2 separate regions of the Homo sapiens genome follow, and region 2 is linked to region 1. Evidence: promoter capture Hi-C in human tissues and cell types (Jung and others, 2019). All regions are on one chromosome and are shown on one strand. The core of a region is centred on a gene start or on the middle of the fragment in contact, and the rest is flanking DNA. Distances in the headings are between cores, read along the strand shown.

Region 1 (5,951 bases), core at 2,221-4,720:
AGAGACACACACAGTGACAGGGCAAAGGTTCCAAAATTTTAAACCTGGTAAATCTGGGTACGGGTATACAGGAGTTGTTCTACTACACTATTCTTTCAACTTTTTTGAAAGTTTGAAGTTATTTCAAAAGAAAAAGTTTTCCAAACTTTAGTGATCCTCCTGCCTCAGCCTCCCAAAGTGCTGGGATGATAGGCATGAGCCACCGTGCCTGACCCCTCTGTATATTTTTAGAATTTCATGTTAAAAGATGGAAAAGTCTGGATGAGGTAGTTCACGCCTGTCTTCCCAGCTCTTTGGGAGGCCAAGGTGGGAAGACTGCTTGAAGCCAGACGTTCAAGACCAACTTGGCCAACATAGTGAGACCCCGCTTTTTTCTAACTAAAAAAATTTTTTTCCAAGTTGGAAAAAATATCTAGCCATAAGACAAACCTTGAAACTGCAAAAGAACAATGGAGTATGTGTGACAGGAGGTACTGCTCTACAGTGGGGTTAAAGCCATACACAAGCTGTGGTGGCTCACGCCTGTAATCCCAGCACTTTGGGAGGCCGATGCGGGCGGATCATGAGGTTAGGAGTTCAAGACCAGCCTGGCCAGCATGGTGAAACCCGTCTCTACTAAAAATACAAAACATTAGCCAGACGTGGTGGTGGGCACCTGTAGTCCCAGCTACTAGGGAGGCTGAGGCAGGAGAATGGCGTGAACCCAGGAGGCGGAGCTTGCAGTGAGCTGAGATTGCGCCACTGCACTCCAGCCTGGGCGACAGAGCGAGACTCTGTCTCAAAAAAAAAAAAGCCATACACAAGCTGTTACCACTAAATGGGAAAATGACTGAAAAATGTCAATGTCAAGAGGGACTGAAATCAAATTTTTCCAATAGTGGGTTACATGATCAGAAATCCAAATAGACAGGAAATATGTTGGCTTTATTTATTTATTTATTTATTTATTTATTTATTTAGACAGAGTCTCACTCTGTCACCCAGGCTGGAGTACAGTGGCATGAACTCGGCTCACTGCAACCTTCACCTCCCAGGTTCAAGCGATTGTCCTGCCTCAGCCTCCCGAGTAGCTGGGACTACAGATGTGTGCCACCACACCCAGCTAATTTTTGTATTTTTAGTAGGGACGGGGTTTTACCATGTTGGTCAGGCTGGTCTTGAACTCCTGACCTCAAGTGATCCACCCGCCTTGGCCTCTCAAAGTGCTGGGATTACAGGTGTGAGCCACCACACCTGGCCGGTACTGGCTTTAAAAATAACAAAAGTAATACATACACATAGAAAAAGGTCAAACAAAGAAGTACATAGAATGAAAAATGAATGCTGTGTCCCCTCCCAGACCATTTCTGTGAATAAATATGTAATACCATGAAATGATGAGGACTAACATTTTCTGAATGCCAGGCACCACTCTATGTGCTTTCCACACATTCATTAACCTCATTTAATTTTCTCATTTAATTAATGAGATAAATTAATGTATCTCATTTAATTTTCACAACAACCTCATGCAGTAGGTGTAACTGTCACCCTCATTTCAGAGAGCAGAATACTGAGAGCTGGAGGCCAAGGGGCAATTTCAGCCAGGGTGGCTGGTGACGCCTCGGTGAAACCAAGAGCGAACAGTGAGAGCAGCGGCCACCTGCTGGTCTGCAGGGATGGTGTCCTGGGCAGAAAGAATAGCAAGTGCCAGGGCTGTGCTGGGGCCGGGCTTTGCATGTGTGAGAACAAGACAGAGAATGAGGGAGGTGGGCCCACGAGGAGTGTGGGCACAGACAGCAGCCTCTGCCTGTGGTGCCACGCTGAAGACTCAGTATTGTATGTGACAGATGAAGGCTCTAAGAAGACAGCTCTGACAAAAGCTAGAGTGCAAAATCAGACTCAGACACAACCACCGGTCTGTGTCCTGAACACAATGGACCTTTACACTCTGGAATTTCTCAAACGGAGCAATGCACAGACACCCCCATGGGCCCCTTGCACACCCGCAGATTCTCCTAGGAGTCACATTCTCTCTTCAGATAGACTCTGGGTGCCGACACTCCCAAACATGCTCTTGAGGAGCAGTCTCTGTGATAAGCTGATCTTCCAGACAATCCAGAATATTCTTAAAACTTTTTAGATCATAAAATTTAAAACACAAATTAAAAAACAAATTATCATAAGGCCGGGCACAGTGACTCATGCCTGTAATCCCAGCACTTTGCAAGGCTGAAGCAGGAGGATCACTTGAGCCCAAGAGTTCAAGACCAGCCTAGGCAACATAGTGAGACCCTGTCTCTACAAAAAAGTCAAAAGTTAGCTAGACATGGTGGTGTGCACCTGTATTCCCAGCTACTTGCAGGGCTGAGGTGAGGAGGATTGCTTCAGCTCGGGAGGTTGAGGCTGCAGTGAGCCAAGATCACGCCACTGCACTCCAGCCTGGGTAACAGAGTGAGACCCTGTCTCAAAAAACACATAGGGCCAGGCGTGGTGGCTCACGCATGTAATCCCAGCACTTTGGGAGGCCGAGACGGGAGGATCACTTCACTCCAGGAGTTCAACACCAGCCTGGCCAACATAGTGAAACCCCGTCTCTACTAAAAATACAAAAAATTAGTTGGACATGGTGGTGTGCGCCTGTAATCTCAGCCACTCAGGAGGCTGAGGCAGGAGAACGCTTGAACTTGGGAGACAGAGGTTGCAGTGAGCTGAGATCGCACCACTGCACTCCAGCATGGGCAGCAGCGCGAAACTCTGTCTCAAAACAAACAAACAAACAAACAAACACCCATAAACACAAAATGTATCACAGCCTCAGAGATCCCCACGAATGCCTAAGTGGCCCTGAATTTGGGAGGCACTGCTCAGTAATAGTCCTATCTGTCCCACAACAGACAGGAGTGCTGGGCTGCACCTACTGGCAACAAACACAGCAACCCTTGACTGAAGAAAGGTCCATGCCACAATCCCCTTATTCTGTAAGCCACTAATTTTGTCCTCTCTCCTCCACCTTTCACTGAGGAACGAGCTCTTGGAAGGACAGGGACACCCGCCTAGTAGCTGAGCCAGCCACATCAGTCCTGGAGAGCAGGTGGAGGGCAGATGCTGTGATCATCCCAGAAGAGAGGACACAGTTGGAGGCAGATGCATGGTCTCTACTTTCAGCTACCCTCAATGCAGCCTGGTCCCCAGAGGCCTGAAGAGCGCCTTGTTTATGTGGTGACCTCAAGAGGGGCTGCTCCTGCACCAAGGCTATGTGTGCATGCTAACACAGTAACCGTCATATACTCAAAGTGTCAGCTCTAAGAACTGGAGATGAGGAGCTGCAAGCCACTCTACAGTTATCAAAGGCACAGCTGAGGGGGTTTGTGCTGACCAAGCTGGTTGCCTGGTGTTTGGATTGGGACTTATTTACTTTGGAAAATATGCAGCAACAGCCCAGCACCAAAGTTCACATCAAAATCCCACTGATGACCTTGGCTGCTTTCATCTCTGAAGCGCCACTTCTCAGAAACACAGAGGTAAGTTGGGTTTCTAATGTTTCTGCTGATTATAAATTATTTTTGGTGTTTACGGATAGGCAACTGGTTCATTTTTCTAGCAAACTAAGAATTCAGAAGCTTTCTACACTGTTTTAGAAGTGGGAAATGGTTTCATTTTTCAGTGTGCCTATTATAAAATTGTGTCAGTTCCATTGTTGGGAGAGTTGACAAACTTAGAATAGGAGCTGTGGAATAGATGAAAATATTGTACTTATATTAAATTAATCGAATTGGATAACTGTCCTGTGATTATGTATGAGAATATCCTTGCTCTTGGGTATTTTCCCTGAAGTATTAGTATTAAAGGTTAGAGGGGCCGGGTGCAGTGGCTCACGCCTGTAATCCCAACACTTTGGGAGGCCGAGGCGGGTGGATCACGAGGTCAGGAGTTCAAGACCAGCCTGACCAACATGGTGAAGCCAAGTCTCTACTAAAAATACAAAAATTAGCTGGGCGTGGTGGCACGCGCCTGTAATCCCAGCTACTCAGGAGGCTGAGGCAGGAGAATCGCTTAAACCCGGGAGGCAGAGGTTGCAGTGAGCGGAGATCGTGCCACTGCACTCCAGCCTGGACAACAGAGTTAGACTCCGTCAAAAAAAAAAAAAAAAAGAAGAAAAAAGAAAAAATGTTAGAGGAACAAGATATAGGAGACCTACTCTCAAATGGTCTAGAAGAAAAAATGTGTATGTGCATGCCTGTGAGAACACACACGTACGTACACACACACACAGATAATGACAGGGCAAAGGTTCCAAAATTTTAAACCTGGTAAATCTCGGTACGGGTATACAGGAGTTGTTCTACTACACTATTCTTTCAACATTTTTGGAAGTTTGAACTTACTTCAAAATAAAAAGTTTTCCAAACTTTAGGCAGTTACTTCTCTCCCATTCTGCCTGCTCTGTTGGGCCTGGAGACCATACACCAGGAGGGATGACGGTTTATCAAGTGTTATGCTCTGATGCGTGACTGAAAAGGCCAACCCAGCTCTGGCAATTAGCAAGAAAGCACAATATGAAGTTCCCAGGAAAAAAAAAAAGCAAAACAAACTTTTGAATGATTTATCTTTAAAATATATTGTTTCTCTTCAAACAGTAATCTGGATTTAATCACAACCTAGTGATAGTTTTTAAACGTCTTCTACAATGTTTGTTATACTAAATAGCAAAACATCAGGAAGATTTACCTTCAGATCTTTAATTTCAATCCATAAAAGATATCAGAGATATTTTCTCCTTCCTCTGGTAAGGGAATGACGAAAACTATTTTTGGCTTTTTATCAGATAATGTGGGAACAGGGTATAAGAAGTTTCCAAATATAACTTCTGAATACCGGGATAAAACATGCATGTCTTTACTCTGCCACTCTATCTGGCCTCAGATACGTTTTCCTGAATGCTTATTTATTCAAGTTGGTTTTTGTTTTGTTCTTTAACCTTATTTTTATCTGAGAAGAAAACATTTTCCCCCTTTGTTCCTTCTTCTTTTGGCTTTCTTTTTTAAAATAGAGATGAGGTCTTGCTATGTTGCTCCAGCTGGTCTTGAACTCCTGGGCTCAAGCGATCCTCCTGCCTTGGCCTCCCAAGATGCTAAGATTACAGGTGTGAGCCCCTATGCCTGGTCTTCTTCTTCTTGATCTTAGCCAAAAGGCCAAGAAGTGATAAGAGGAGGACACTTGAAGTGTAGTTGGGCAAGGAGCCTTCTACCAGCTGCTTACTTTCTTTGTTCCTGACTTTTAAAAGTGTGTTGCTATTGATACACAGTCTCCTGATATGTAAAATGCTGGGAGGATGAAGCTAAGTTACTCAAAGTGCCATTCAGAAACTGGGCCCAGTTCTATTTGCAGCTACATACATTAGAAATCATTTCTAGAGGCTGAGCATGGTAACTCATACCTGTAATTCCAGCACTTTGGGAGGCCAAGGCAGGAGAATTGCCTGAGCTCAGGAGTTTGAGACCTGTCTGGGCAACATGGTAAAACCCCATCTTTACCAAAAACACAAAAAATTAACTGGGTTTGGTGGCACACACCTGTGGTCCCAGCTACTTCAAAAGGCTGAGGTGGGAGGGTCTCTTGAGCCTGAGAGGAACAGGTGGCAGTGAACCAATATTGTGCCACTGCACTCCAGCCTGGGTGACAGAGTGAGACCCCGCCGTCTCAAAATAAAAATAAAAAGAAATCGTTTCTAGAAACTGTTTTCCCGTGTGTAAACTAGTGGCACTGCAGCCTGAGGCAGGTGCTGAGATGGGGACCTGGAAAAGGCAACAGGCATTTTGAGTCAGAAACAATGTGACTTTCCTGCTCCAAAATGTGCAATTCAAAAGTCTTTCTTAGTTGTGACTAAAACAAACTTTGAACTTACTATTTCAACAGTATTATAAGGGGAAGACCCAAGGAATGGGACTGGCACTGGGAAAACAGCTAGG
Region 2 (5,951 bases), core at 2,354-4,853, 33 kb after region 1:
GGACCATCTGAGTAGGCCCTGAGCAGGGAGGTGCTCAACCCTTCAGTACCCAAGTCTGACCCAAAACTTCGAAGGTCAAAGCTCCCACAGGCCACCTGCCCAGGACATAAAAAGATGGAAGCGATGGTGCTGACTCTCCTCCACCTATAGGGGACATCAACTACTATTTTTTTGTTTTGTTTTTGAGACAGGGTCTCGCTGTCGCCCAGGCTGGAGTGCAGTGGCACGATCATGGCTTACTGCAGCCTTGACTTACTGGGCTTAAGCAATCCTCCCACCTCAGCCTCCTGAGTAGCTGGGACTGTAGGCACACACCATCATCCCTAACTAATTCTAATTTTTTAAATTTTTTGTGCAGACGGAGTCTCACTATGTTGCCCAGGTTGGGCTCAAGCGATCCTCCCACCTCTGCCTCCCAAAGTATCGGGATTACAGGAGTGAGCAACCGTACCTGGCCAGGGGATATAGATTGTTAAAGTGTGCTCATCTCTTTTGGAAGCATACTAAAGAAGAAAGGGACAAAATATAATTTTTAAACAATGGCAGGTGTGGAGTCAGTGGGATTGTGACAAGGTTAAGAGTCTCGGCAGAGCAGAGCTAGCACTGTGGGTGTCAGGAGACATCCCCTTGCGTGGCCCCATGGCACATGTCCACAGTCCTTCCCCCACAGGCCTTGGGAATGGCCCCCAGCCTCACAACAACGGAGAACTGAAGCCAGCTGCACCCATATGCCACTGACAGAAAGCCCTGGCATCCTGCAGGGGGCAGCCCACACTCAGTGATGAACTGTGCACAGCACGCACTGGTTAAAGCTCCTAAAGACAGAACCGGCAGGGTCTCCGCTGCTGGTGTGCCCACCACAGCCTGAACAGCAACAGCGTGACAAGAGGGAGGCCCTACAGGTGGGATCTGAGCCTCTCTGGGTTCAGGGAGACTGACCTGCAGACAGCAGATCAGCAGGGGCAAGTGAGCAATAATGACTTTGCTGGACGTCTTGGACTGCAGCTTCTCAGATAGCTTGATGCAAAGGTTTTCTGCACCTTAATTCAAAACCAGAAGAGGAGATGAGTGATCAGCACAGGCCAGTCTTTCTAACACACTTATCCACCAAGTAAGCACAGAATTTAATAAAACCCCAGAGACATACTTTAGGCAGGGCTTATTCATACTGAGAGGTCACACAGTGTGTGACACTCTCTCTCTCTTCTCCGCTGGCCCTAAGCCCCCTTGTCCCCGCAGTGTTCATTCCACAGAAAACTTCCCATTCTACTCCTCCCCCAGAAAAACACTTCACCTGAAGGCACTGAGCTTCCATGTCACCACAGAAAAGCCTAAAGAACCAGCAAGATGCAGCAGAGAGCATACACAGGCCCTGAGGCCACGGGCATCCCCATCCTCCCAGGTCCAGTGCCCTCCATGCAGGACAGGACACCAGACGTGCAGAGCACAGCAGGGGCTAATGCTCCACTCTGCACGTGCCCAGGAGGCCTACTGCAACTGCCTGTGCTGGTAACAGAGCCAAGTGTTCTAGAAGTAGTTTGGGGAAACTTGTGGCAAGAAAGCCTCTGGGTCATGCCTGGAGCTCACATGAGAGGCAAGGCAGTCTGTCTCACCCTGCTCGTCCTTCACAGCCCACACCATGAGGTCCACACAGGCAGCATTCGCCTGACAGCGCAGTTTGAGGGGGCTCAGCTCATTGTGGATCCGGTCTGCGTCATGTAGAATCTTCTGGAGCTCCCCCTGGCTCGTGTTGAACTGCTCCAGCACAAAATCATGGATCTCCTTCACAAAAGAGGTCGGGAGGTCTGTAGGAAAGAGTGTGGCATCACAGCTGGGAACAAAACTACAGTAGAACACAGGCAGTGCTAGCAGCGGCTACAGTCTTCCCCTTTTAACAAAAACCCCAGAAAAGTAGCATTTGCTACTGGCCACTGTGGGTCCTAGAATGCCCACTGGAAAGAAGTTGGATAGGAATTGCACAGCTGTCCTCCACGTGCACACAACCTGGCAATCAGAGGAAATGATCATTTCCCAGGGATGTTACAGCCATGCTTTGTTTTAAGCAGTCAACGTACTAAAACCTGAATACATGAAACATATAAATTGGGAAGTATCGTTGCTGGAACTACTTCCACTGACAATATGAGATACTTCTGTGATTTTTTTTTCTTTTAAGAAAGAGGTTGTCAGGGCCAGGCGCGGTGGCTCACGCCTGTAATCTCAGCAACTTGGGAGGCCGAGGCGGGCAGATCATGAGGTCAGGAGATCGAGACCATCCTGGCTAACACGGTGAAACCCCATCTCTAATAAAAATACAAAAAATTAGCCGGGCGTGGTGGTGGGCGCCTGTAGTCCCAGCTACTCGGGAGGCTGAGGCAGGAGAATGGCGTCAACCCGGGAGGCGGAGCTTGCAGTGAGCCAAGATCGTGCCACTGCATTCCAGCGTGGGCGACAGAGCGAGACTCCCATCTCAAAAAAAAAAAAAAAAAGAAAGAAAAAGGTTGTCAGATAAGGGCAAAAACTGGTTGCAGCCTTGAGAAGAGAATTATCTGGATCTTCAGAGCACTCACCCTGAGTTTGAGAGACTTTTCAAACTCTCATCCCCAGGGCCTGGAAAATTCAGGAGAACCACCATGATGCACGCACAAGTCAGCCCAGCCAAGGCAGCCAGCAACACACAGCAGGGGTGGTGGGGAGGGCAGGGGTAATCCCTGATGCCCCTTCTTAGGGAGTTTCAACCCTTGCCGTGGCCCAGATGACTCAGCTTCTGAGGAATGTTCAGAATCAGATTAGGAAAGTGGTTACTAAATTTTGGTATACCTTCCTGACAAAATATTATGTGCTCATCAAAACTTAAGCTTACGAAGAACACTCAACAGTGTGAGGGGAGAGCATAGGAAAAACATTTTGTAAAATGCATAAAAGATTGTTTCCTCACTTCTGGGAAAAACAAAATTCATGAAAGAGGGACTAGAAGAAAATGCTAAATTGTTGTGTGTGCATGTTAACTATTAAGCTATTGTCTCAGGTTGGGTGCAGTGGCTAACACCTGTAATCCCAGCACTTTGGGAGGCCAAGGTGGGTGGATCATTTGAGGCCAGGAGTTCAAGACCAGCCTGGCCAACATGGTAAAACCCCATCTCTACTAAAAATACAAAAATTAGGCAGACGTGGTGGCACATGCCTGTAATCCCAGCTACTTGGGAGGCTGAGGCACGAGAGAATTGCTTGAGCCTGGGAGGCAGAAGTTGCAGTGACCCCAGATCATGCCAATGCACTCCAGCCTGGGCGACAGGGAAAGACTCTGTCTGAAAAAAAAAGCTAGTACCTCTACATTAACAGATTACATGTATTACAAGTACTTCATTTTCTTTTTTTTAATGTTTTTGAGATGGAGTCTTACTCTGTCACATAGGCTGGAGTGCAGTGGCACGATCTGGGCTCACTGCAACCTCCGCCTCCCAAGTTCAAGCGATTCTCCTGCCTCAGCCTCCTGTGTAGCTGGGATTACAGGTGCATGCCACTGCGCCTGGCTAATTTCTTTTGTATTTTTAGTAGAGACAGGGTTTCACCCTGTTTGGCAAGGCTGGTCTCGAACTCCTGACCTTAAGTGATCAGCCCACCTTGTCCTCCCAAAGTGCTGGGATTATACGCATAAGCCACTGTGCCTGGCCTCTTTTTTAATTTTTTAAACTATCTAAATGGATATGTAAAACTGTATCTGTCCTTAGGACAATATAACATGCACATTTTAGATAAACACCTTAGGAAATAAACTCAGCAAAGGAGCCATCATCGATGGTACCGGGGTTGCAGGATCATGGACAGATTTTTTAAATTTGCTTTTTTCCCAAAATTTCAGTAACATGACCACTTTGCTCATATGTGTTTTTCAGTGGCCCCAGCAGAAAGTGAGTACCAGTCTGCAACCACTAGCATGCGACAGTGGCCTGGGAGCCAGTCTTGCTGTACTCACAAACACATGGGCAAACTGTCCTCACCCTTCATGTAGTACAGAGTGTCACGCAGCATCTTGAACATGGTCAGGTAGAGAGGGTCACTGAAGGAAGTGTAGTAGAGATCAGCACTGGGGTTGGCCTGCAGGGAAGGCAGACACACATGACTATAGAACAGAAATGCCCTTCTGCCCACCCTTTGCCTTCACAGCAAGGCCCAGCGGAATGGTGATTCGTGACTTAGCATTCTAAATGAAGCAACTGTTTATCATGACTCATCACTTGGACACTCTACTGTCTTCATCCTCTTAAGCATCAGACCAAGGAAAACAGGAGGCTCATGCAGTCCAGAGATGCCTGCGGGGGAGCAGCCATCTGCACCCTAGTAGGAAGAACCTCCTTGCTGTGGCTGAAGCTCACCATCTTTGGCCATCATTGGCCCAGACAGGGACATGGGAAGTGGTGAAGGAGGAAGACTGACAAAGGCCACCAGAGTAAGGGATCCACACTGTCCATCATCCCAAGGATACAAATTACAGCCAGGACACCTTCAGATACAACTTATGTTTTGTAATTAAAACTCATTTTAAATTATTCTTTAGGAATCTATTTGAAATGTAGCACTATTCTTCTTCTGAAAAAAAAAAAAAAATTCACACAAGGTCTAATGAGTTAAGAAAGATAATAGTCCAGCCCGGGTGTGGTGGCTCACGCCTGTAATCCCAGCATTTGGGGAGGCCAAGGAGGGTGGATCACCTGAGGTCGGGAGTTTGAGACCAGCCTGACCAACATGGAGAAACCCTGTCTCTACTAAAAATACAAAATTAGCTGGGCGTGGTGGTACATGACTGTAATCCCAGCTACTTGGGAGGCTGAGGCAGGAGAATTGCTTGAACCTGAAAGGCAGAGGTTGTGGTGAGCAGAGATCGCGCCATTGCACTCCAGCCTGGGCAACAAGAACAAAACTCTGTCTCAAAAAAAAAAAAAGGCTGGGTGCAGTGGCTCTCGCCTGTAATCCCAGCACTTTGGGAGGCCAAGGCGGGTGGATCACGAGATCAGGAGTTCAGGAGTTCAAGACCAGCCTGTCCAACATGGTGACACCCTGTCTCTTCTAAAAATACAAAAAATTAGCCGGGCGTGGTGGCGTGCACCTGTAATCCCAGCTACTAAGGAGGCTGAGGCAGAATTGCTTTGACCTGGGAGGCGGAGCTTGCAGTGAGCCAAGATCACGCCACTGCACTCCAGCCTGGGTGACAGAGTGAGACTCCGTCTCAAAAAAAAAAAAAAAAAGATAACAGTCCTTAACTTCTATATACTCCTAGTTGAGTAGGATGGAAAATTATGGTTTATCATAACTCGTTTTTTTCATTTTTTTTTTTAGAGATAGGGTCTCACTCTGTACCCCAGGCTGGAATGCAGTGGTATGATCACAGCTCACTGCAGCCTTGAACTCCTGGGCTCAAGTGATCCTCCTGCCTCAGCCTCCTGAGTAGCAGGGACTACAGGCATGTACCACCATGCCCAGCTAATATTATAATTCTTGACAAGTATAAAAGTGGTCTGCAAATATAGCAAATCTTTAAGGCGCCAGAAGTTGGCCAGAGTGGGATAGGGCATGCAGTGTGAGGTTGACAGAGGGTGAGTGAGCAGGTGGAGAAAAAAAGAATCATGTGGAGAGTGTGAGAGTCATGCCAATTCCCAGGAGGACACTGACAGGAAGAGCTGTGGTTGACAGCACTGCAATGATGGCTTTACAGACAACGTCTGGTGGTCCTCACAGGGCAGAAATGGAGAAATGAGACTGGGAGAGGTTAAAGCAGTTCAGGGCTTTGACTCTGGGAGTCCAGACAACACGAGTGTTAAACTTTGGAGCCTTGGAGACCAACCATCTTACAAGCCCACAGCCCAGCTCCATCACTCACGAGCTATGTAAATAAAGTTCCTGAGCTAAGCCTCAGTTTCCCCATATGTAAACTGGGGATTGTTGTGAGATTC

The links. The method cuts DNA at HindIII sites, captures the fragments that hold promoters and counts their contacts. A contact is called where the count stands out against the background at its distance.
Region 2: a fragment that was not itself captured here is called in contact with the fragment with the promoter of SERPIND1 in region 1 in 3 of the 25 tissues and cell types used here (IMR-90 fibroblasts, dorsolateral prefrontal cortex and lymphoblastoid cells).

Annotation. Positions count from the first base shown.
Region 1 is chr22:20,770,643-20,776,593 of GRCh38, forward strand. It overlaps SERPIND1 (serpin family D member 1), which reads left to right and starts at 3,471. Exons shown (of 5, transcript NM_000185.4): 1 at 3,471-3,503. The region is part of intron 19 of PI4KA (phosphatidylinositol 4-kinase alpha); the gene reads right to left. The HindIII fragment of the contact is 14,489 bases long and covers 1-4,989 here.
Region 2 is chr22:20,803,361-20,809,311 of GRCh38, forward strand. PI4KA (phosphatidylinositol 4-kinase alpha) reads right to left here. Exons shown (of 55, transcript NM_058004.4): 10 at 4,002-4,098; 11 at 1,614-1,805; 12 at 940-1,040. Among named protein-coding and RNA genes, the nearest start is that of SERPIND1, 32 kb to the left of the region's middle. The HindIII fragment of the contact is 6,426 bases long and covers 391-5,951 here.